2 separate regions of the Homo sapiens genome follow, and region 1 is linked to region 2. Evidence: promoter capture Hi-C in 16 types of primary human blood cells and fetal thymus (Javierre and others, 2016). All regions are on one chromosome and are shown on one strand. The core of a region is centred on a gene start or on the middle of the fragment in contact, and the rest is flanking DNA. Distances in the headings are between cores, read along the strand shown. Region 1 holds the start of MCM3 (minichromosome maintenance complex component 3). Region 2 holds the start of CD2AP (CD2 associated protein).

Region 1 (5,599 bases), core at 2,207-4,706, 4.8 Mb before region 2:
CCAAGTAGCTGGGATTATAGGTGCCGGCCACCATGCCTAGCTAATTTTTTTGTATTTTTGGTAGAGACGGGGTTTCACTATGTTGGCCAGGCTGGTCTTGAACTCCTGACCTCAGGTGATCCACTTGCCTCGGCCTCACAAATTGCTAGGATTACTGGTGTGAGCCACTGTGCCGGCTGACCAGACTCTTTTAAAAGAGTTTTATAAAGGAGTCCATTTAGTATTCCATAATGTTCTTTGAGCATGGAGTAAATGCATCTGATGGCTTCCAACACTGTCGGAATCCGAGCCAAACAACACCCTGCCTATGTTATTTTTTTTAGCCAATTGGACTTCCAGCAGAAAAAGGTCCCACTCAAGGAAGTGTCTGGGTTGGTTGTATTGTAAGTTTTTTGGTGGAAGTGGGAAGGGGGTTTGAATTTGGTTGTCTGAATTGTTTCAGAATGCACTACAGTGCTTCCTCCCCTTCTCCTATCCCTTGACTCCTCTCCAACTACCATTCACCACCACTACCAATGGTTAACATTTATTTAATGCTTACTACATACCAGGCACTTTTTTCAGTAGTTTACATCTGTTATGACTTCACTGGATACTTAAACATTTGAGTTAGATACTACTAACCTAATTTGAAAGGTGAAGAAACTGAGGCACAGAGTGGTTAAGTAAGTTGCCTAGTCGTGCAGGTAATATACAGAGCAGCCAGAAAGAGTAACCAAATCTGCCTGTCTTGGTGCTTGAAACTCTAGATGCTACAGCATCTGAAGATTCTGACTTCACACTGCAGAACTGTGAGGTTAGGGCAAGCCTGTGCCTACAGATTATTCCTTGAGCTGCTGTGACACCTGGAGGCATAGATTTGCTCACCTCCAAGCTTTGGTGGCCTTTGAGTAAATGTCAAAGGACTGCTAATGAATTATGGCACTTTCCTGAGTGCCTAAACAAGTTATTAATTACAGGGTATTATTTGAAATGTTTTGCAACATATAATGTTCATTAGTTTGAACAAAGGTATATATAATTTCTTGTAATAATATTTATTATGGATTTGTATTGTGTCTTTGGGTATTTTTTGGACCCTGAGGACATAGAAAAATGGCAGTATTACATCTATTTTGCAATCTCTTTGCAATCTTGTTTTCTTTCCATTCTCTTCCTGTATACTCTGCTCTCCAGGGAGCCCCCTAGCGTTTAGGCAGCCTTGGAGATGGGCTTGAGTCCATTAAAGTCTAGGGTGGAAAGAAAATTGAAATGGAGGAAAGCAGGAATGTGACCCAAGTATGGAAACTGTAGATACACTACTTTATTAGATTATATGTGCTTTTTAATTTTGAATCAGGATAGAGGAGGACTACGGGCTAAGCTCAGCTGGACTTTTTATGAGATATGTACAAATGCCCCTAATTTTTCTGTAGCAACAACCTGATTGATTTTGGGCAGTTTGCAGGTGTCGGGGATAACAAAGGAAATACATTTCCTCTGCTTAAAGATTTCATGCCCTAATGAAAGAAGGGAGAAACACCAATTAAATAGCGGTGTGTCCTTCACAGCTGAAGATGATTATATTGGGACAAATCAAGTCTTTATCAAAGACCATGGCATGATTAATTCATTAAATAGAATTGTCTTTACATAGTTTCCAAATTTGCCATTAGCTCATGGAATGTTAGAGTAAGACAGATTATCAGAGATATTCTAATTCAGTTTCTTCATCTTATACTGTATATAAGGAAACAAGCCCAGAAAAAAGTGTGAGAATCAAAGATGTGGTTTTCAGATTTCCACTCTTTTGGACTTTCTACTACAAATGACTCGACTTCTTTGCTAGTTTGAACTAAGCTTCCCGGTTCTTTTAGTGTTAATTTCAAATTGTTTCCAGAGCAGAGGATATCTCAGTACTCTGTCCAATAAGTTCATAAAATAAGAGTTATGAGTAAAAAGTCTTAATAAATCAGTAATTACCTCTTGCTATATAACGGCAAACAGTATCTTTATTCTAGAATTTTCTTTTTTTTTTGCCCGTTAATAAACATAAAAGCAAGCAGTCAAATGACAGCCTTTTTGCTTTGGCTAAGGATCGATTTATCTGCCCACTAGGATGGCACAAAACATACAGTAACTATAAACTGAATAATAACTAGAAATACATATACCCACACAAATAGATGGCCTATATATTTTGTTTAGGCAGATTATTCTTAGAATATTTATCAGTACATAGTGAGTCCTGAAGACTTTAAAACATAAGCTAATAGTTGGCTGAAATTTCAGATAAAGAATTATCAAATGTCTGATGTTGGGCAATCCAGTATTTCAGCTTCTTGTTCAGTAAAATTAAAAACACATGCTGGGGCAATGGGCTTGCTCTTTATTGTGCAGAGTGGTTACATGGGTGTAAGCACAGGTAAAAATTCACTGAGCTGTACACTTAAGATTTGTGCATTTTACTGTATATACATTATATCTCAAAATAAAACTAGAAATATAAGAAAAAGCCAACCACGACGGACTGAAAACAAACATACAAATTTGGACGTGCGATGATCTTTTAGTCATTATGGTTTCAGATTTGCTGTTAGTTACTGATTGATATTTAATCAAAGTGACGTGAAACACTTTTTCCCCTCTTGAGCTGATCGTTCAGTAAGCTAAGTTACTTAAAAGGATCTTGTGATCTTTTTATAAGACCAGAAAGCCTTTAATTTACCTGTTATTAAGTAAGATGGAGTAGTAACGGTTTCCAAAATTTGTATAACACACGATGAAGTCTCTAGGGGGCAGGGTAAACACAGATTTTTTTTTTCACTTCATCCTTCTCTGCGGCGATGTCTTTATGGAGTTCGTCAGGCAACGGTATCAGATAGCAAATGGGTTTTTAACTAATCTTTCCCTAAGGTACTGTAGTTCTATATTCTATCCTATAGATTCTCAAAATCCACTTTTACACTAGGATGCCACTGGAGGGCAGTTCTGATTTGGATATATCTTAAAAATGATTTGCTTTTATGTTTTCATCTCCCTGCGTTATAAAGCACCATCCTCTGAATTTGGTCGTTGCATCGGGTCAAAAGTTCTGCAGCTTGAAAAACCCTGCAAAAACATCCGGAAAGGAGGGAGAACACTACAACTCCCAGAACGCAATGCTTTCCCTCTCGCCAGCCTGTCCCCTCCAGCTGCTCAATGACCAGCCTCTGTGAGCCTCCTCTCAGCCCTATTGGTCAGTTTGCTCGTCAGTGAGTGAGGCGGAGGGAGGGGAGGAACAGAGAATCCCGGATGGTACGTTTCCCGCCACCGCGGGGCGCGCAGCGGAAAACCCGAAGAAGAAGAAGCTTTTGATTGGACAGTCGCTAGTCCGACCTCAGAGAACTCAGCCAATCATAATGCTTATATGCTCCCAAGGTCCCCGCCTCTTCCTCGAGGTAACCTTTGGTGGCGGGAAGAGTTCGGAAGTTTTCGCGCCGGGGTGGAGTCATCCTGGGAACCTCCACGCGACTTTGGTGGAGGTAGTTCTTTGGCAGCGGGCATGGCGGGTACCGTGGTGCTGGACGATGTGGAGCTGCGGGAGGCTCAGAGAGATTACCTGGACTTCCTGGACGACGAGGTGAGGGAGGCGCCGGCGCGCGGGCTCTAGCGCTCGGAGCCCCTGCGGACGCGGCCCGGCCGGGAAGCCAGAGGCCCGCCAGACCTCCAGACCGTGTGCCGCAGCGGAGCCTGCCGGGCCCGAGCCTCCAGCCCCAATCTTGTAACTTCTCAACGCCGGACTCGCTAGTTTGTGTTCGATAAGTGAACTCTTAGGAAGCCAGCTTTCTCTTAAGTACAAGCGATGGTCCGGGCGCGCAAAAGGCGACAGGTTCCCATTAAGTGCAAGCAGATTGGCAAAGCCCACCTCGGCCTTTTGCATTTCACTGCTCTCTCTTGATTTGAGGAGACTGTGGGGGAGGGGCTGCCCTAGGGCTATAGTGACCAGCCGCGTTGCAGAGTGCTCAGATTTTAGGGACTGACGTTTTACCTGGAGGAAAAGACTCCATAATTCGGCTGCATTCTTTTTCAATACCAACTAAGATGCAGATAAAAAGTGTTTTGTGTGCAGGCCAAGGGGATTTTATGTGCAACCCAAGACTTAAAGCCATAGAATGTTGAAAAAACCATCTTGAAGGGTTGATGATGTGACCAAATAGCTGAGATTCTCTATTCCTTTAGGTCGGGGTATGAGAACCCTTTCCGTATTATAGAGATGATTGGAAAAAATATTACTTTTTACATAATTCTTAAATGAAAAGCCATTTTAATGTGACTATTAAGAGTCTGTTTTATTTACATTTTTATTGTATATATTTGAAGTGCACATGTTTTGATATACATGGTGAAATGATTACTACAGTGAAACAACATATCCATCTATTCACGTTGTTACCTTTAACATTCACATTGCTAGGTTTAACTTAACATTTTAACAAAGTTTGCACTTACTGTCCATTTAGACTTCTCATGAGCTCATTTTAATTCTCCACTAAAGACAGAAATTACAGCATGCAGAAAAGTTGTCCATGATGATGGGAATAACAGCATGGACCTTGAGGAAGTCATTATAATTCTTATAGTCCCCTCTTAGGGTGTTATTTCGAATCTAAAAACAGTGAATGAAAGGGAGAAATTGATGAGCACATACTTACTGGGGATTCAGCTCTGCTGCAGAGATTGACTTAGCTATCTGGCTATGAGAACTACTTCTGTTTAGAAACATTGTTTTTAAATTTGTGGCTATGGTGATATGTGGTGGCTGTTTTGCAGGAAGACCAGGGAATTTATCAGAGCAAAGTTCGGGAGCTGATCAGTGACAACCAATACCGGCTGATTGTCAATGTGAATGACCTGCGCAGGAAAAACGAGAAGAGGGCTAACCGGTGAGAGGCAAGGGGATATACTGGCTGTCAGTGAGAATGGCTCCCTTCCCTCTTGGCCAGATTGGAACAGCCTCTCAGGAGAGGACTTGTATGAAACAGGATTGATCTACAAGCCCTCGTAGCTCACCTGCACCTATTTTTTTTTTTTTTTTTTTCAAAAAGTGGGTGGTTGGCATTTTCCTCCCAAATGCCCCTCCTTCCAATGTTTAGCTGAATATCATTTTTATATCTTTGATAAGTTGAGGTGAAGTTGGTCCTTAGTTCTGGTATTTTACTGAGTCTTATAGGATGGTGTTTTACTGAGACTTATAGGAGAAAGCAGAAGCTGGATTTTCTCATTGTTTTTAATGATCTAAGAATGTCTGCTGTTTTGAGGATCCATTTTTTTGAGTTCTGCCCAGTCTAATTTTTCTTTCTCTTGCTTATGTACAGGCTTCTGAACAATGCCTTTGAGGAGCTGGTTGCCTTCCAGCGGGCCTTAAAGGATTTTGTGGCCTCCATTGATGCTACCTATGCCAAGCAGTATGAGGAGTTCTACGTAGGACTGGAAGGCAGCTTTGGCTCCAAGCACGTCTCCCCGCGGACTCTTACCTCCTGCTTCCTCAGCTGTGTGGTCTGTGTGGAGGGCATTGTCACTAAATGTAAGTGGGTTAAAGGGGGCCGCTTAGGAAATGAATAGACAGGGAGATGGGGAA
Region 2 (5,697 bases), core at 2,579-5,078:
CCCAGCACTTTGGGAGGCCAAAGCGGGCAGATCACATGAGGTCAGGAGTTCGAGACCAGCCTGACCAACATGGTGAAACCCTGTCTCTACTAAAAATGCAAAAATTAGCTGGGCATGGTGGCACACACCTGTAATCCCAGCTACTGAGGAGGATGAGACAAGAGAATCCCTTGAACCCAGGAGGCGGAGGTTGCGGTGAGCCGAGATCGCACCACAGCACTCCAGCTTGGGCAACAGAGCAAAACTCCATCAAAAAAACAAACAAACAAACAAAAAAACACCACCACATGACTGATATGTTTTATATACGAGAGCCTATAAAATAAACTAAAAAGTTCACCGCCTTATCTAAAATTATTAAAGAGAAATTCTGCCCTTAGAAGTCTGCTTACTCTTCCAAAAATAAAAATTCACAAATATTCCTTTTTTGTGCTCTAGAAATGCTCTGACACTTTGTGCCATTTGCTTTCTGCCTAATTCTGCTCCAAAATGCCGATCTGTATTTTTGGAATAAGAAAAATAAGCACTGCCTATCTGTCTCCCTAGAGCTCTTCCCAAATTCTTTCACACAGAATACCTCAAACTTCTCAATAGGCATTTTATCACATTTAACAAATGTAGACACTAAAAACATAAACTTCAAATAAGTCTACTAGTAGTCATCCCACTTAAGAGTTTTTCCTAAGCAACTAAAGCTCTTACCAATAATGGACTTTCGCACAGTACATCCAACATTGAAAAAAGTATCTATGTGGTTTCTGTAAGGTTATATCACATAAAATTCAATTTCTGCCTTAGTGCAAAATCATCTCATCCCTCTGGTCCTTTATTTAAAGAAAATATCCTACTTCTAACAAAGGTCAAAAATTGAGATTTTTTTTTTCCCAAGTTGGTACAAGAATTAGGGAAATCATTTGAAAATGAAAATCACCACCGCCAGCACTGGCAGTGTTCTAAGCACTTTACAAGTAGTAACTCATTCAATCCTCCTAACAACCTATGAGGTTGATATTTTATTCCATTTATAGATTGAGAAACTGAAGCACAGAGAAGTAATGTGCTCAGTCACACAGCCAGTAGGTAGAAGAGAATTTGACCTCAAGTAGTCTCTGTCCAGAGCCCATGCTTTTAACTCTCTAGCTGTACCACCTAAACTTAAGAACCACCATTTAATAGGCATCCAAATTATCTTACACACAAAAAAAATTTCAGATTTTTTCATTTTGTGACAAATTAGATAAAATATCATGTAAATATTTTAGGCTGCATCTAAAATCATAAGAAAAAAGGATGGCTGGTAAAACCAAATAAATGAGATTTATATTAAAGAGCAAACTCCCTTTAAGTGAACTTGGGAATTTTATTATTACATGACCAATAAACTTAAAGAATATATATATTGATATGGAAATGTTTCACAAACACTTTACAAAAACTTAACCACAAATGCCCTCAGTAACATACCTTCAAAACACATTCTAAGTAGTCGAGAGTATACCAACATTGATATCCAAGTCTATATGAAAACTCACCTAAACAGAACACAACAAATAAATCACAAAGAAAAAGCCTCTGGACAATCAAAATAGGTATTCCAATGTCCAAGTATTGGTACACATTTACTTTTCTCCAGAGACGACCTCACACACTAAGTAACGGCCTACTGATTTTTCCCCTATGCAGAATCACAAACCTGAATATGATTTCCACACTTCTAAAAAAAAATTAGAAAAGGAAAGATGATGGGGGACACTAATCAGTTACAAGCACATCCAAAAGCAAAGCAAAAAAAAAAAGTATTTAAATAATTTCAAAATGCGAACAAATATTATTTAGAATTTAGCTCAAAAGCCCTATATGCAAAACAAGACTGCATCCCCAGGTCATCCAAAGTAGTTTAATTTTATTCTGCATCCCATTTAAGACAGAAAAGAACTGTGTAATTAACTTTAGTATTATCTTAATCCAAAGCAGTTAAAGTGATTTTATAATTTCATACTTAAAAGAATATGCCCACAATTGCCCTGCAAGCTCAACTAATCAATTATAAAATAATTCATTTGAAAATTCCAAATAGCAAATGTTTTATTTCACTGTTTTTGAGCTCAAGAGCACTTTTGAGTATGAAAGTTACCTGAAAGGAGGGAGGTGGAGAAGGGAACATAAAATTAGAAAAGTCTAAGAAAACAGAGGATAGCTAGGCGAGTGTCTATAAACAATATGCTCAAAACATCCCCCACAAAGCAAAGTGTGGACAGAGGGTGCCACATCAGCAGTAGTCTGTATTCGTCCTGCTTCTAAATCATTTGTTAATTACATGAATTATTCATTTCGGTGATCGTTTGTTGATATGAAGCAGTACCAACTCTCAACTGCAAAAAGTGATAGGGTCCTCCTGATTTGCTCTACAAAAATCAAACTTGGGTTTACTCTTACAGAACACGTTCTGCCTTATAGAGACACAGGGTGTTTTGTTTTTTGTAAGCTATTCTTAAGTTGCTTTTAATTTTTAAAGGATTGAGGGAGTTAGTTTAATGCCTAGCCCACACCGAACTTTGTTATCAAAAGAAATTGTTACACCACTTAACAAAACTCCTTTTCAACCCGGACTGCCACACATTCTGCCTTCTCTAACTTCAAACAAAACTATAAAGCACATAGTAAATAACATATAAGGCCTTGTATTTTTCTCTCCTCCGGCAAGGAAGTCTAACTCCAAACAGGAAACTGCTCCTCAAAGGATCCAACACTGAAGTCCAAACCCAGTCCTCGGGAGCACACTGAATGCTTAGGTGCCAACACACTTGCCTAGGTAGAACCCGAGTAAAACAAATACTCAAGCTTTCCTGTCCTTGAGGCACCCCTTGCGAGTTTCAGCAGGAAAAAAAAAAAGTTTTTGAACAAATTTATCTCTCTCCTTAAACGTATTCAAAGCCTCGCAGAAAATAAAGAAGTTGAAAGTGCTACTTTATCAAGTTTTTCGATCGCCCTCCCCCATCCCACGAGGAGGGGGAGGGAAGCAAGGGGATGAGGAAGGGAAGGAAGGTCAGGTCTGATTTTAGCTGGGCAAGGGGTTAGCAGAGGTGGCCAGGCGCCCCCGCCCCCCATCCCGCACCTTTCTGGTGAACAGGAAAAGAGGCGGAGAAGGGAGAGCGAGGGAAAGCACCCGCGAGCTCTCCCACCAGTTTCTCCGTGAGAAGAGCAAGGTGGAAGGCAGGGCAAGAAGGGGCGGTGGGGAGAATGGAGAGGGTGGGGTGCTGCCGCTCAGGGGCTGACCGCAGTCGCCTCCCCAGAAGGCCGAGAAAGGGCACAGCCTCCCCGGGTCTGGAAGGTCCGGACGGGCGGCGGGAAGCGCCCGAGTCTCTTACCCATGCTGGGGGCTCCCGCGGGGAGAAGCCGACGTCCGCTCCTCCTCCTCCTCCTCCAGTGGTGGCTCGCGCGGCCGCTCCCGCGGCTGGAGGCGGGACCCGCGCTCCGCGCTAGCCCCTCCTGAGCTCAGGCGGGGCGAAGAGTCGCCTCCATCCGCCCGCGGCGCTCTCCTACCAGTCTCTTCAGCGCGGCCCTCGAGGCAGAGGCAAAGGCGGCGACAGCTCCTCACCCCTGGCCTCCCCAGGAGCCACGGCGGCGGGAGGGCCCTACCCCGCCCGCCCGACCGCGGTTTTCCCACCCTGGCCGCTCCCGCAGTGGGGAGGGACCCACCGGTTTGCCCAGACCCTCGGCTCCAACCCCGAGCGCCCGCCTAGCCTCGGAGCCCGCCCCTCGCCTCTTCCTTAGCACTCGCAGTTAGAAAAGGCGACACCGTAGACTAAGGTGGGGACCCAGACAGAGGCCGAGAAGGTGCGGGGAGCTGGGACCGGGAGGAGGCAAATCTCGCGAGAACGCCCTCGTTCTCCCCGCCCCACCCCGCCCCGTCGCGTTCGGGCTCTCTCCCGGTCCCCACGGCTGCTGCCAGGTGCGGTGACGTCACGGCCGGGGGTCGCGCGCCGACCGCGTCCAGGTGCAGCGAGCGGATGAGGAAGCGGTGCAGAGGAGCTTGGGCTCGCTCTCCCCCCGGAGGCTCGGAACAGCTTGGGCGGGCGTTTGGTCTGGTTTGTCGCCTCAGATGGATCAAAAGGTTTCTGCTGATAGGCAAAGTTGCCCCACTTTCCGCGGCGGCGACGCGGAGTTACTTTCTGCAGCGAAGCAGCCTCGAGGACCTTAAAGGGAAAAGGCGGACAGAAGGAGGGCGAGCGCACTTGATTTCGACCTTTAAGGGAGGCCCAGATGCTGCCAGGCCCCTCAGTTTACCTTGCGAAGTTACTTACGGATCAGCAGCATTTGGTCTTCGTCGGGTGAGGGAGAAACCTAGGCATCAAATAAATTCTGTTTCACAGATTCCTTTAGTCTCTTGTCAGCTGAATGCAACTTTATAATTTGCTTTTTTTCTTTTTAAAGTATAATTTGAGTTGTTACTTGATCGAGAGAAAAATAGGCATCATGATTTGAAATACTGCCAGGCATTTTTTCTAGCGTCAATGTGAAGGAGGGCATAGGATTACTATAGTCAGTCAAACATGAGCTTGGTAGTTACGAAGAAGTATAATTATTTCAGCAAGCTTTTTTTCCCCCTTCTGTTTAAGTAGACCCAATTCCAGGGCAGATGTGTGTGTGAGCGTTTGTTGAACGCCAACTATTGTGCCTAGTGCTTTTTCAAGAAATTTTGTAATTCTCAGTCATCCAGCACTGAAACTGACTTGCCCTTTGGATCCAGGCAGACATGGGTCCTTGAAACTCAGCACAGCCATTTACTTTTTGTGGGACCTTGGATAAATTAACCTGTCTGAACTTCAATTTCTTGAGTATGTTCAAACAAATCTTGCAATGCAGAGCACAGTGGCCCATAGTAGTAACCTTGGACGTATCCATTACCACTATTTCCTATAGGCCTGCTTTTGCCATCTTTTAATTCTTCTAATGCTTCTCAAAAGGTTACATGTGGTAATTTTATAACAAGAATGATCAAACTCACAAACAGCAGCCAAAAAGGATAAAAGAAAAAAGTTGAATATACTCACCTAAACAAGATTACATTGACATCATGGAACATGTGCCTTTTTTAGGTAACAAATATGTGTTCAGCATTATGTTCGTTGTCCCCTACCAAGCAAAAAAATAAAAAGCTAAAGTACAGCGCTAATCCTCAGAGATTTTGCATTCTTCTAGGGGGGTGAGATACGAACACAAAGTTAATTAACAGTATGAGGTAGTGAGGGTCAAATGCTTGAGAATTTAAAGGAAAATAAATTACTGTGGGCAAAGCAAGCTGTAAAGAGAAGGTATGAGTTGAACGAAAGCTTGGGGAAGGCAATAATTCAGTCTGGAGGAGTCCTAGAACTGAGGAATGGAAGTGGATATGCAAACAGAGTATTTCTGAGCCTTTAAGAAATGTGTGTGGCTCAAGCAGCCCATAAGGAAGGCCATTTACGATTTGGAAGAATGAGGCTGGTGATGGGCTAAGAAGGATTCATGAAAGGAGACAAAAATATAAGCTATTGGAAGCACATACATAGGTAGTAAATTCAAGGCCCAGAGCCCTTAAGTTTCTAGAGACTAAATTTCTAGGTCTCTAGAATCCTTAATATTTAAAGAAGAAAGGCCAATGAATAGAATGGAAAAGAAGTTAAGTAAAACAGAAGGGGGAATAAAGACTATCAGATT

The links. Contacts are between HindIII fragments. The CHiCAGO score rates a contact against its expected background, and 5 or more counts as called.
Region 1: a contact is called between the fragment with the promoter of MCM3 here and the fragment with the promoter of CD2AP in region 2, in 3 of 17 cell types (total CD8 T cells, naive CD8 T cells and non-activated CD4 T cells). The highest score is 8.8, in total CD8 T cells.

The regions. Positions count from the first base shown.
Region 1 is chr6:52,282,599-52,288,197 of GRCh38, reverse strand. MCM3 (minichromosome maintenance complex component 3) reads left to right here and starts at 3,456. Exons shown (of 17, transcript NM_002388.6): 1 at 3,456-3,601; 2 at 4,792-4,904; 3 at 5,337-5,545. The coding sequence starts at 3,524. RefSeq lists a silencer at 830-899 and enhancers at 2,979-3,178, 3,499-3,578. The HindIII fragment of the contact is 4,216 bases long and covers 3,332-5,599 here.
Region 2 is chr6:47,475,920-47,481,616 of GRCh38, reverse strand. CD2AP (CD2 associated protein) reads right to left here and starts at 3,828. Exons shown (of 18, transcript NM_012120.3): 1 at 3,369-3,828. The coding sequence starts at 3,372. It overlaps CD2AP-DT (CD2AP divergent transcript), which reads left to right and starts at 3,545. Exons shown (of 1, transcript NR_187257.1): 1 at 3,545-4,374. RefSeq lists an enhancer at 2,544-3,270 and a silencer at 3,557-4,066. The HindIII fragment of the contact is 1,754 bases long and covers 2,844-4,597 here.